2 separate regions of the Homo sapiens genome follow, and region 1 is linked to region 2. Evidence: promoter capture Hi-C in 16 types of primary human blood cells and fetal thymus (Javierre and others, 2016). All regions are on one chromosome and are shown on one strand. Each heading gives the region's core, a stretch centred on a gene start or on the middle of the fragment in contact. The rest is flanking DNA. Distances are from core to core; before and after follow the strand shown.

Region 1 (6,753 bases), core at 4,254-6,753, 740 kb before region 2:
AAATTAATGGCTCTATCAAATGGTAGAGTGAAGTGAGAAATGTATGCTATGTTCCCCTTATTACAGAGTACTATAGTAAGCGTCCTCATGTGACCAGATTGTTAATGAATACTACTAGACGAGTGCCGCTTTGATAATGTTCTTAGTTTCAATGTACCCGTAAGTGAGGAAAATTAATTCAAATTATCAAGTACTCCCCAGAGAACATTATATTTACATGCAGGCAACTAATTTTTATATTTGAAGATACTTCTATTTTTTATTATATCTGGCCTAAATGTTGTTGCTTTAGAGTTATGTTAGGATAAAGATTTAAAGTACTAACCAAAGGTCTCATAAGTTTCTTCATCTTTCTCATTTTCACCCAGCCTGCCAATGCTTGAGACATCAGAATTATCAGGAAAGTCGAACACGTCAATAGGCTTGCACTTTTGACCAGCTTTCTAAAAGTGAATAAAGTTGAGTCATTGAGTTGGCTCTCACAAAGAACAATAGGTTGATTTATACAGCAAGAATATTCTTGTAATCACTGCTGCCTAAGGAAGCAATCCTTATGCATGGGGTGATGGATTCACTACCTACCCTGATTGGGTCATTATACAACATAGACATGTATGGCAAGATCAAATCAGACCCCACAAATGTGTACAATTACAATGTTTCAGTTAAAATAAAAAGAAAGAAGCAAGCTAACACTTTTTGGGGACATAGAATTTTTTGATAACCTAAGGCATGGATTGGCAAACTTTTTCTATAAAGGACAAGAAAGTAAATTCTTTTAGGCTTTGCAGGCCGTAAGGTTTCTGTTTTGACTACTAACTCAGCCACTGTCACATGAATGCAGACAGTAACCACACAGAAAAGAATGAGCATGGCTGTGTTCCAATACAATTTGACTTTTGAACACTGCAATTTGAATTTCATATCATGTTCACATATTATGACATAGTCTTTTTATTTTATTTCAACCATTAAAAAAGGTAAAAACCATTCTTAGCTTGCAGGGATATACAAAAACAGGTGGCAGGCTAGATTTGGCCCATGGGCCAGTTTGCCTAAACCTCTGACCTAGGGAAAGTGATGGGTCCTGTCTCCGGAAATATGCCCATATACCCAAAAGTTCATAAACAGTTTTAAGGGTACACATGTGTAAAAACTCCTGACTAAAGGACACCAGGGTTTAGAGTTCAATATACTGATACACCCATGAAGTCTGCTACCCCAAATCTAATGAAACATGAAAACATACATAAAATGAGAAAAACTTTCATGGTAGTTCCAGAAAATGTGGAAGGGTACTATTAACAGATACAAAAATAAGAAAATTCTGGAAGGTATAAAGGAGGTCAAATAAAATTGGCAAACCATATAAAAACTTGACCATTCAGATGCCCCCAGTGAAAGAATCATTCCTGGAGTGCTTGGGGGTGGAATGTGGAGAGAGCTGGCAGGTCTTCCAGCCCCTCCCAAGGCATAGGGGGCCTCCACCAGGGACTGCCTTGCAGAGGGAAGGACAGGAAAGCTGAATCCATTCCAGGCACTCTGGGCTTCCAGCTAAGGCTGGAGCTTAGAGAAATCCCTCCGAGGCACACTGTACTTTGGCTACCAATGGCAGGGGCAAGGCAGGACAGCTGAGAGAAATCCACCCAAAGAACCCGTGAAGTAATGCCGGGGTGGGAGCAGAGCGCTGAGCAAAACCCTGCAGGGGGATCCCAGGGTTTCCCAGAGGGGAAGAGAGCTATCGTCTGCAGGCTGGGGTTAAGGACTATGCAGGACAGAGAAAGCCCAGGGCAGAACAAGCAGAAGGAACTCCTTCCGGGGTGCCTGGCACTGTCATACACTGTTAATGTGAGATTACAATGTCAATCACACAAGCCACTGGAAAAAAAAACTGGAATTAGCTATCAAGAACGTTAAAGAAATGCACATGCCTTTAACATACATTTATTCTAAGACTCTAAAGAAAAGTAAACCTGTAATGTGAACTAAGTGGAGTATCATGAAATCATAAAACAATTCTTGAAAAGTACAATGAGGAGAAATGGCTTTAAGTGAAAAAAGCTTACAGCACTGTACAATTTTTACATGAAGTCAATTATCTAAACGAAAATAAAACCAAACTCGGCTCAGAAATAAAGGAAATTCTAAAACATTAACAAAAGTCATTTTATCCACTATACCGGAAAAAGTGTGAGGAAAATGAACACACTTTTTCACTACAATAAACATTGAACTTGCCAAGTGAAGTCTACAAAACTGAGGTACCCAAAAAATGTTATTTTGTACTGTCAATTTTGAGAAAACCACAACACAAAAAGGTAACTTACATCTTTCATGGAATGTGTTCTTTCTAAAGTGTTCTTTGAACGTCTTGCGCTATTAAACAGCAAAAAAACACAAGAGTTAGGAAATAGTTAAAATAACTGAGGAAACACCATAGTTATGACCCTTTCCGCGCATTTTTACCAAAAAAAAAAACAAGAACCCATATTCCACAAATTTATTTTTTATAGGTCAAATCCTATCACCAATGTATAAAATAACATACCTCTCCCCCTCAGGGACATGGAAAAGTTGGAATCCTGCTGTTAACTTTTTCCCTGAGGCCTTAATCAATCAGCAGTGATTGACTTTCTCTGCACAGCTGAACAAAGGGGAGGTAGGCTAACGCTAAGCCCCGACACCTGCTCCATCCGGTGCCTGGCTCTCCTACGTCCTTTTCTCATTTAATTCTAACAGTCCTATAAGGTAGAAGTGAATCCCATGTTACAGATGTGTGCTTGCCCACAGCAACACGGAGCCAGGAGGGAGACAAGCCTGCATTAAAATTTACATCAGTTCAAATCCAGGGCCTGCCCTCGACCTCCCTTGACACTCTCTCAGTTGGACCACAGCTTCAAATGATAAAGTTGTATATATATCTTCAACAAGCTTCAAGAAAACAAATGTAACAATGGTGACAAGAATAAAAACGGGAAATAACAGTGGCAGGATTATATATCATTATTACTAATAATAGTGCCAGCAGTCAGTGAATATGTACAGACTATCCTCCACCAACCAGGCATCGTACAAGGGTACGGGGGGGATACTCCAGGAGAATACAGTACATAATTAGACTTTAAAATATGCCATGCAGATTGCAGCCATATTTTTCTCATTTGTAGACAGCAAAATCAGCTTAGTCTAAACCAATGTTTTAGTATCCTTTTATCTGATATAATTTCAAGCTCACAGAAAAGTTGCAAACATAGCACAAGGACCTTCTGTATGCCCTTTACTCATGTGCTCTGTGTGTGTGTGTGTGTGTGTGTGTGTCTGGAGATACTGTGCACTTCCACCCCTAAATACTACAATATGTCTTTCCTAAGAGGGCATTATACTGCATATTCATGGTACAATTTCTAAAATCAAGAAATTTAACACTGATACCATAATCTAATCTACAGTCCATACCCAAATCACATCAATTGTCCTATAATGTCTTTTAAGATTGCCAGGCCAGCATTTTTAAAAAAACAAACAATAAAAAAGGAAAATATAAAATGAAGCATTGCACTGGATATACTATGTTCACAAGCCTTTTGTTTTATGTGTGGATGTGTGCACACGTGTACTAAGTGTGATGTAAAACATCATTACTGTGAATCACAGTTAAAAAAAAAAAGTTAGAAAACTGTTCAGAGCGGTGGTTCCCAGACTTGAGTGTCATCAAAATTCTCAAGAGGGCTTGTTGAACAGGTTGCTTGGCACCACCCCAGGAGTGTCTGATTCAGTCCCTCTGGGGTGAGGTCTGGGATTCTGCATTTCTAACAAGTTCACGATTTATTTATTTAATTCATGAAACCTAAGGAAGCAGGTAAGACAAGTATTGGTTTTATGGCAATTTTATAGATGATGATTCCGGGATTCAGAAAATTTAAGTGACTTATCAAGGGTCACATAGCCAGGTAACAGAAACCCAGCTACACACTAGACCACATAAACTTCTTAACCTAAACTCTTTGAGCTGTCTTGTCCTTTCTTGGGGGGGAAAAAAAGTCAAGGTTCCTCCTTGCCTTACGCTGGAGTCAAGGTGGGGCTTCTGAGAGACAGAAACCTCTGTGACAACCCACAGGTAAAATTTCTGGGCCAGGCGCGGTGGCTCATGCCTGTAATCTCAGCGCTTTGGGAACCCCAGGAGGGCGGATCACGAGGTGAGGAAATCAAGACCATCCTGGCCAACATGGTGAAACCCCGTCTTTACTAAAAATACAAAAATTAGCTGGACGTGGGGGCGAGCGCCTGTAATCCCAGCTCCTCTGGAGTCTGAGGCAGGAAAATCGCTTGAACCTGGGAGGCGGAGATTGCGCCACTGCACTCCAGCCTGGGCCACAGAGTGAGACTCCGTCTCAAAAAAAAAAAAAAAAAAAAATTCTGTTGTATGTGCGTAAGTGTGTTTTGGGAGGAGGCATGAACAGATTTCATGAGTCTCAAACCCAAAAATGTTAAAAGATAAAAATAAAAAAAGACAACAAAAACCACTAGCCTTTCAGATAAACTCTTTTCAGCTGACATTGAAGGCTGACATTCTCTTCTAATCCTTTTTTGCACTGGGGGAGTCTTCATTCTCCTCCACTGGCCACAGAAGTCTGGTCTCGGTTTCCCCACCCACCTGCGGTGTCCTGCTCCAGCTTTTCCACCCTAACCCCGCATCTACCAGCACCTCCTCCTCCAGGCAGCCTTCCCAGGCCCGGGGGAACTCCTGTTCTCTTCAGATCGTCTTGGCGTATGGCTTTGTGCACCGTCTGCAGCAAGCCGAGACCCTTCCCGCCAGATCCAGGCCGGGCCTTGGATGGCCATTCGCCAACGAATCAGCGACCAGCATTCTAGAGCGCGTTTTGCAACCGACCAAACGCTCGCTTTCTTTGGTAAACAAAAACCGCTCGAGCCATCCTGGAGAACCGCAAGCGGCAGCTCGGTCCCCCAGCCGGATTTATGCTCCAGTTTACGGTCTGTGGTTTGCAGTAAGAAAACACCAGGGTCTTCAAAATAAGAAAACTGATTCCCAGTCAGAGAATAAAACTCCACTAACAAAGTCTGGCAAACCGCAGGCAATACGTATTTGCTGAATATTTTGCTTTCAAGCTAGCACTTTGAGACTCACTACTTTGGACGGCACTCCCCCTCCCCACAAAACGACACGACACTGGCTGACGTCTCTCCCACCCGCCAGGCAGTGTTAGGCCCCGACAGGCCCGTGCAGGTGGGATCACTGTTATCCCCACTAGACTGAGGAGGAAGCCGGGGACCCGGGCGATTGGCCACTCGGGCGACCTCCACAGTGGAGCACCAACAGCGCCGGGAGGCGCAAACCACGGCAGGCGAGGAAGCAGTTCAAGCTGGTCTCCGGCCCCGCGCTCCCGAGGGTCGGCAGTACTTACCCCTCAGACCTGTGAGGCCGCGGCCGCCGCCGCCCCCGCGGGGCCATGGTGCCGCTCTCCGCTCTCGAGCGACTGGAAGCTCCCGCCAAGCCCCTCGCCGCTCCGAACAGCCAATCCGGGCCGAGCACGCGCGCGTGCGCAGGACTTCCTGAGCGGCCCCCGGGCTCCTCCCTGGCCTGGAGCGTGAGGGAAAACTGGGTCTGGTTATTACAGCGCAACGGAGCTGGAGTCCATGCCGCACAACCAGTTACCTACGGTCCAAAACATGCCAAAGTTTTCCGGGCTTTCGCGCCCACCCGCATCGCCAGTTTTCCGGCGCCAGAAAGCCCGGGAGCCACGTGGGACGGCCCCTTGTGGGGTGGGGAAAGGGGAGGAGCTAGTGTCCCTGAGTCGTGGGCAGGTAAGAGGGTGGGTGGAGACCCGTGTTCGCAGCTGTTGTCGCTGAGGCCGCAGTCGTCTTTCCAGGCCTACAGGATTTGGCTTCCAGCCCCTGCTGCCTTTATCAGCTGTCTGAGCTTAGCATGTTACTTTACCGCTATCCCAATACCTTCATTTGTAAATGGACAGGGTTCCTTTTGTTCTTTTATTTTGTTTGTGTTTAAAAATGTGTAATGCAGAAGAATGTAATTGAACCCTTACCTTACACCGCGTATAAAAATTAACGCAAAATGAATCAAAGACCTAACTATAAAGGCTAAAATTAAAACTCTTAGAAGAAAACAGAGCAAAAACTTCATAACATTGGACTTGGTATGATTTCTTGGATATGATACCAAAAGCAGTTTGGGATGATGAAAACGTTCTGGAAATAGTGGTGGATGGATGCACAAGGTGAAGGTACTTAATGCCACAATACTGTAAAGTTAAAAACGGTTAAAATGCTAAATTTTGTTATGTATATTTTACTACGACAAAAATATTACGTTTCATGCATATGAAAGAATATAACGTGTAATGTAAAGATAAAAACAAACATCCGTGTAACCAGCACTACATGGGGATATGGATCATTTTTATATATAACTCTTGGGTACCCCTCTGAATGGTATCCTCCTCCTCCAAAGAATAACCACTCTTCTGATTTTATGTGTATCATTCCTGTGGTTTTCTACCTTGATATAGCCCCAAATAATGTATTGATTATTGTATGTTTCTAAACTTTATATGATATTTGGTAGGTATGCTGCAAGTGCCCTTTCTTACTAAAGCTATTGCTTTTATTTTTTATTTATTTTATTTTTCCATAAATTATTGGGGTGCAGGTGCTATTTGGTTACATGAGTAAGTTCTTTTTTTTTTTTTTTTTTTTTTTTTGAGTTGGAGTTTTGCT
Region 2 (6,452 bases), core at 1,515-4,014:
AAACGAATGAATGAATGAAAGCTCGGGTACAACAGGGTGCTGGGAACAACACCCTGGACACCCTCAAATTCAAAAGTCTCTCACAAACCCATTCCAATAAGGGTTAATTAGGTTAACCACTAGTTCTGAAATCAGAGACACCTTGGGAACATTCTATAACTCTTTGTAACCTGGCAGTAGTTATGCAAATCAGGTCATTATTTTCTCAGTACACGGGGAATGGATCACTTGGTGACAATGAAAGCATCAGTAGGAGAGTAGAGAGAAGGGCGCCAGCCATACCTCCTAGTTTTGCCTATAGTTGCAGGCAGGAAATTCCTGGGTGGCCCCTGACTCAAGATAACTGGTGTTTATTAAGAACCTGTCCTGTGTCAACCCCAGACCTGTAAACACTGTGTTCTGGCAAGAAAGACTGTAACTCTTAAACATGTACATGTGCTATTTTGCATGTAACTATTTTCTATAAATGTTGGCATCTTTCTCCAGAACCCTAAGCCTCATTCATGTCAAAAAACATGTGATCTTGCCAAATTAAGGTACTTCTATTTCTTCTGACCTTACATGCTCTCTTTGAGGTAAATACGGAGCTACCTCAATGTCTCAACTCTCTGTGAGGACTCTTTCTCCTTCGTTCAGGGGGCCCCTTTGCCCCTCCTGGTTGCCCAGGGAAACCTGCATATCTCAAGGGTGGAGGCAGGAGGGCGGAGAGGGGACTGGCCAGTGCCTGTCCTGCTGGCCTCCACTGGGGTGTTGCTCATCCTGGTAGTGCCTGGGCACCCGGGTGTCTTCTGTCTACTGAGGTGTGGCTGCTCTAGTCTCTTCTTTCCGGGCCCTGACAAGGCTTTTTGTGAAGATCTTGCATGGTGGAGGTGCAGAAATCCTGTCCCAACCTCAGTCCTCTTGTGGTTCAGCACTTTGGCATCAGGATTGCCCATATCCTACAGAGGGGCAACTGGGGGTCCGGGCATGGCACATCAGTCTAGACCCTTCTCCTGCCCCGTGCTCTGCTCCTTCCCCGGCATGTCCCCTCACAGCAGGCTCCTCTGAGAGGCGTGTAGTCAGTCGCCTGGGACTCCACCTTCAATGTCCTCAGATTCCCCTAGCTGGGTACCCCCATCTTATTCATAATTTATGTGGTGCTTGAAAGCTTTAGCTATGTGGCTATTTCAAACATCCTCCCCATATAATATCCTGTAGTCCGTAAATATTTACTATAAAAAGTAGTTTTCTTTAGAAAAGGTATACACCCCTCCCTGGATATCCACAGGGGATTGGTTCCAGAGCCTCTGCGGATAGCAAAATCTGCAGATGCCCAAGTCCCTAATACAAAATGGGGTAGTATTTGCATAGCTTCTATGTGTATCCTGCTGTATACTTTAAATCATCTCTCGATTACTTGTAATACCTTATACAATGTAAATGCTATGTAAATGGCTGTTATACTGTTCAAAATTTGCATTTAAAAATTGTGGTACTGTTATTTTTAAAAATTTTCCCCCCTGAATATTTTCCATCTGTGGTTGGTTGAATCCAAGGATGCGGAACTCCCAGATACCGAGGGCTGACTGCATATCGTTTTAGTGTGTGTCCAAAAAACTCAACAATTCTTACTTAGCATTCAGAGAAGCAACGGAGCGTAGCGTGGTGGTGAAGACAGGCAGTCCGGAGCCGCCCTGCTGAATGCCCGCTCCATTCCTCGCTGCCTGTGTGACCTTAGGGAGTTAACCTCTCTGTGCCCGTTTCCTTATCTGCAAAATGGGGATCGTGGTAGCACCCACCTCGTAAAAGTGTTGTGAGAATTAAACAGTTGATCCATTACGTGCTTAGAACAGCACTGGCACAAAGCGCGAGTGCCGTGGTGGCTGCTGTCCGTGTCATCACGGCCGTGGGAAGCACGCCAGGTGAGCAGGTGGCACAGGCCAGATGCTGCCGCCTGTGTATAGTTAAAGGAGCCTTTTACGGTCTGGCGATTTTACCTGTGTCACTGCAGCCACTTTCCTTCACCCCCTCCGAAGAATTTAGGATCTTGGACGCTGAAAGGAGAACGGAGTCAACTTCATCCTCTTCCCGGTGCTGCTTTTCTGTAACAGAACCGTCCGGGGCTGTTCTGTCGCGGGTCGTGGCGTGGCGGGGCTGAAGGTGGGGGCGGGGCAGAGGGATGGGGCGGGGCAGGGCTAACGGCTGGGGCGGGGCGGAGGGAATTAGGAGGGGGCGGGGCTGAAGGCTGGGGCGGGGGGGCGGGGAGGGCGGGGAGGGCGGGGCGGAGGGAATTAGGAGGGGGCGGGTTTGAAGGCTGGGGCGGGGCGCAGGGATGGGATGGGGCGGAGAGACTGGGCGGGACCTGTGGGGGCAGAGGAATGGGGCGGGGTCAAGGCTGAAGGCTGGGGCGGGGCGGAGGGATGGGGCGGAGGGACGGCATCAGGCCGGGCCTGGGGCGGGGCGCGGCGCTTTCCGCAAGCGGCCACCCGAGGGCGCGCTGGGCGGGCGGCGGCGGCAGACCACGTAGCCAGCCTGTAAGCCACAGCGGACGCAGGGGGCCGCAGCGGGTGCTCAGCCCTAGGGCCGAGCGGGAGATGTGCGGCGAGTGCAGAAGGGCGGACCCGGGATGTCCCGGGTTTTCGAGCGGGGAGCCGCCTGCTGAATGCCCTTCTGCTGCCCTCCGTTCCCGCGGCTCCCCTAGGAGCCCCGCCCCGTCCAACTCTTACCCGGGCTCATCGCCGCGGCTCATCTCTCTCGCAACCGCCGCCGCACGCACCCGCTCCGCCGCCCCGCGCAGGGCATCCTGTCGCCAGGTAACCGGGTGGCCGGGGCGCCGGCCCCACCCCCACCCTCGGCGGCGCGCGCTCGGCTGGGGTCCCTGGTGGGGTCCCGGTGGGTCCCTCCTCACTCCGGACGCTTCCCCGAGAGCTTCCCTGGGAACCTGGCCTGGGACAGCCCACCTGGGCGCCTCCCCGCACACGCGCGCGGCTGTCCGGGACGGGCTTGCTCACACTCGGACTCGCTGCGGTACCCGCCGGACCAAAGCGGTGCGGAGAAAGGGACCGCCCGGGGACGGACACACGCCTGAGAGCTTTCCCTTTGCCTTTCCACATCTCCACTTCATCGCTGTTGTTTTTTTTTTTTAATTCTTAGTCCTCTCATTTCAGCGCATCCCTCAGAGGAGTTTCAGCATTTGGGGATTTGAACGGCCCATGACCAATATTGTGAAAGGACTTTTGTTTGCTGCAATGAAAAGAAGACTCCTATTTTTCAATAATGAATTAACCTAAACATGTATTAAAATATGCTCATGAAAGCTGTGGGAAGCGACGGTGGGCTTCCTTTGTCTAAGCATGTTAATTTTTACGCACCTGGTGTATCACGTGCAGGATTGATGTTGCGTTCACGGGAAACCTGACCTCCTTTAACCAAGGACTGGGTGCGTGCCCCCAGCTAATCCTCCTGCCCATCAGAAAATGGTGCTCTTTAAAGTTTTAAACGAGTATATATTATTTATTTTGTAGTAAACCATCACACATAGAAAATTAAAATTCAAAATCACAATCACCAGGATATCATAATTTGCTATATAATAACATATAATATATAATAAGTAATACATGATGGCTTGCTTTCATTGAAATGAAACTTCTTATGATAGTTTCAGTGCTTACTTCCTCTAATTTGTTTCTTATAGAAATGGGCTCTAGTGCACGCGCCTGTAATCTCAGCTACTCAGGAGGCTGAGGCAGGAGAATCGCTTGAACCCAGGAGGCGGAGGTTGCAGTGAGCCGAGATGGCGCCACTGTGCTCCAGCCTGGGCAACAGAGCCAGACTCCGTCTCAAAAAAACAAAAAAAAACAAACAAAAAAAAAAAAAAGAAAAGAAATGGGCTCTAGGTCCGGCATGATGGCTCACACCTGTAATCCCAGCACTTTGGGAGGCCGAGGCGGGTGGATCACCTGAGGTCAGGAGTCCGAGACCAGCCTGACCAACATGGTGAAACCTTGTCTCTACTAAAAATACCAAAATTAGCCAGGTATGGTGGAGTACATTCGTAATCCCAGCTACTCGGGAGGCTGAGGCAGGAGAATCACTTGAACCCAGGAGGCAGAGGCTGCAGTGAGTCGACATAGTGCAACTGCACTCCAGCCTGGGCCACAGAGCGACACTCTGTCTCAAAAAAAAAAAAAAAAAAAAGAAAGAAAGAAAGAAAAAAATGGGCTCTAGAAGATTTGACTTTCTTGTGGCATTGTAGACAATTTTAATAAATTATAATTTTGAGAATTTATGGTCTGCATTGCTGATTGATATTGATGATTCAGGAGATAGAAATTATTTAGGCAGATAGGGCAAAAGAGTCTTCAGCAGAACTTCTAACAAAAAACAGCTCAAGAAATCATTTTTTTTTCTAACAAAGAGCAGCCTGAAAGCCTGCAAACCTTGCAAAGATAGATCAGGAAGCTGGAAGCGTGCACACCAGGGCGCAGGGGGTTGGGGGGCAGCGTGCGGGTGGATGCCAGCAGCTGCGCTGATAGAAAAGGGCTACCTGGGGGCCAGGCATGTCCACCATGGAATCTCCATCTCCCCTTTTTTGTTAGCACGTGTACAGTAAGAAAGAGATGGGCGATATGGAAAAGCTCAGTCAGAGAACCCACCTGCGTAGTAAAAGATTGGGGTGGGGGCTGCCAGAGATTCATGCCCTATGCAGATGGCACACCTGGTCCTAACTGGTTTTTCACGCCCTATGTAGATCAGACTGCCTCCCCATTAGCTCATCTATAAAATTCTATAAAAAATATTTCACAGCGAATTGGCAACCCGGGGACCCCTTTCTGTAGCGGAGAGCTTATTCCCTTTCTTGTCGCCTATTACATTTCGGCTCTTAACCTCACTCTTTGTGTGTCTGCATCCTTGATCTCCCTGTGAGACAGCAAACCTTGGTGTCAGCCCACACAATGAGGCTGCTTCATTGATAAAGTTAATTTTTTTCCTGAGAGCTACACAAGTTTTCAGCAATATGTTTGTGAAATTACTACTGTAAATAAATTGCATTCCTTCAAAGGGTGAATGACAAAAAGCCACTACATTTTAGCAAGTCTGTTTTTATACTACTGAAGTTTCCACAATTAATTACTATATTGTATTTTATGTAATGCTAATTATTAATATCTAATCATTTGATAATTTATGTAATAATGTGTAATAACTCTAATTTGTCTATGTAATATTTGTGGACTATGATGACAAATTAATATCGGTTATTACATAGAAATTACTTGTGGATTTTTGTGGGAGCACTCAGTCATACCATTTAGTGTAGAATATAAAAAGCAGGTGATAGATGCTACAACATCAAACTCAGATTTAGCCAGTGCACTAATCTCAATAGAGAGTTACTTCCATTTTAAGCTACTTCCTAATCCATTCATCAGTCAGAAAAGCAGCTCTTTAGTTAGAAGGACACTTTATTTTAGATGTCCTATAAGGCCTTTTGATTATCACACTCATTTCTCTTTTGTAAAGCACATCACATATATATTCTCAGTTAAAACAAAAATTTTGTCAGAAAATTATTGCAATTAATATGTAAAAAGGCTGTCTTTGGAGCCAACAGTTATAATATTTTAAAAACTGTTTTCAATAATAAAGATGCCTATGATTTGAATATCACCCTCTCAGATGAACCCCCTCGTGAAGGGCCTCACATGAACATTGCGTGCGCCAACCCTGGTATTCGAGGTGGGAGAATCTGGAAGTGGTAATTAGAGCATTGACATGTCTCTAAAAAAATGGGGGTGGGAGGTGGTCACAGCCCTTTAGGGACATTCACTGCAGTGTGAAATGTATGTTGAGGGAGAAATCTTATTTGATCACCCATGGCCACTTAAAACCATTTTCACCTGCGCTTGAAACTACCTGCATTTTGAACTCCGTGGCTGACCGAATGATGGGCCTCTCTGAAAAGGAGTTTCCTTATCTGTACAACTGTGAGCCAGTAGTGAGGATGAGTGAAATCCCAGGTGAAGGGCCTACTCCAGGAGAAAGCAGAGTGGTCACATACGGGGCTGACAGTGAATGGCAGGTCTAGAGCCCCGTCTAGGGTGGGATTCCATAAACACTTTTGAAATTTTTTTTTCCTGTGGTTCTTCTTTGAAAAAACTTGACACTTCAGTGGAAAAAGATTCAATTATTGTAGCTCAAATATTAGAAAAAATGTATATTTTAAAGAGATAGTAGAATGTGTTGTCTAGTTTATATTGTGTGTGAACTTTGATGAACTTGCCAAGCTTCTAAAAATAAAAAAATTGTTTGGGCATCTCAGTGAGTGCGTGTTTAGATGGCCTATAAAATGAAAATTTCTCGGCCGGGCACGGTAGCTCACGCCTGTGATCCCAGCACTTTGGGAGGCTGAGGCAGGTGGATCACCTGAGGTGCGGAGTTTGAGACCAGCCTGTCCAACATGGAGAAAC

The links. The method cuts DNA at HindIII sites, captures the fragments that hold promoters and counts their contacts. A CHiCAGO score of 5 or more calls a contact.
Region 1: the fragment with the promoter of CENPU here is called in contact with the fragment with the promoter of CCDC110 in region 2 in 2 of 17 cell types (non-activated CD4 T cells and total CD4 T cells); the score reaches 6.7 in non-activated CD4 T cells.

What each region holds. Positions count from the first base shown.
Region 1 is chr4:184,728,593-184,735,345 of GRCh38, forward strand. CENPU (centromere protein U) reads right to left here and starts at 5,504. Exons shown (of 13, transcript NM_024629.4): 1 at 5,424-5,504; 2 at 2,328-2,376; 3 at 326-443. The coding sequence starts at 5,470. RefSeq lists enhancers at 4,944-5,810, 4,961-5,080 and a silencer at 5,451-5,510. The HindIII fragment of the contact is 4,927 bases long and covers 2,930-6,753 here.
Region 2 is chr4:185,468,969-185,475,420 of GRCh38, forward strand. CCDC110 (coiled-coil domain containing 110) reads right to left here and starts at 2,765. Exons shown (of 7, transcript NM_152775.4): 1 at 2,706-2,765; 2 at 1,977-2,081. The coding sequence starts at 2,715. It overlaps LOC105377590 (a long non-coding RNA gene), which reads left to right and starts at 2,463. Exons shown (of 2, transcript NR_133944.1): 1 at 2,463-2,792; 2 at 3,147-3,295. RefSeq lists a silencer at 2,350-2,979. The HindIII fragment of the contact is 5,122 bases long and covers 1,146-6,267 here.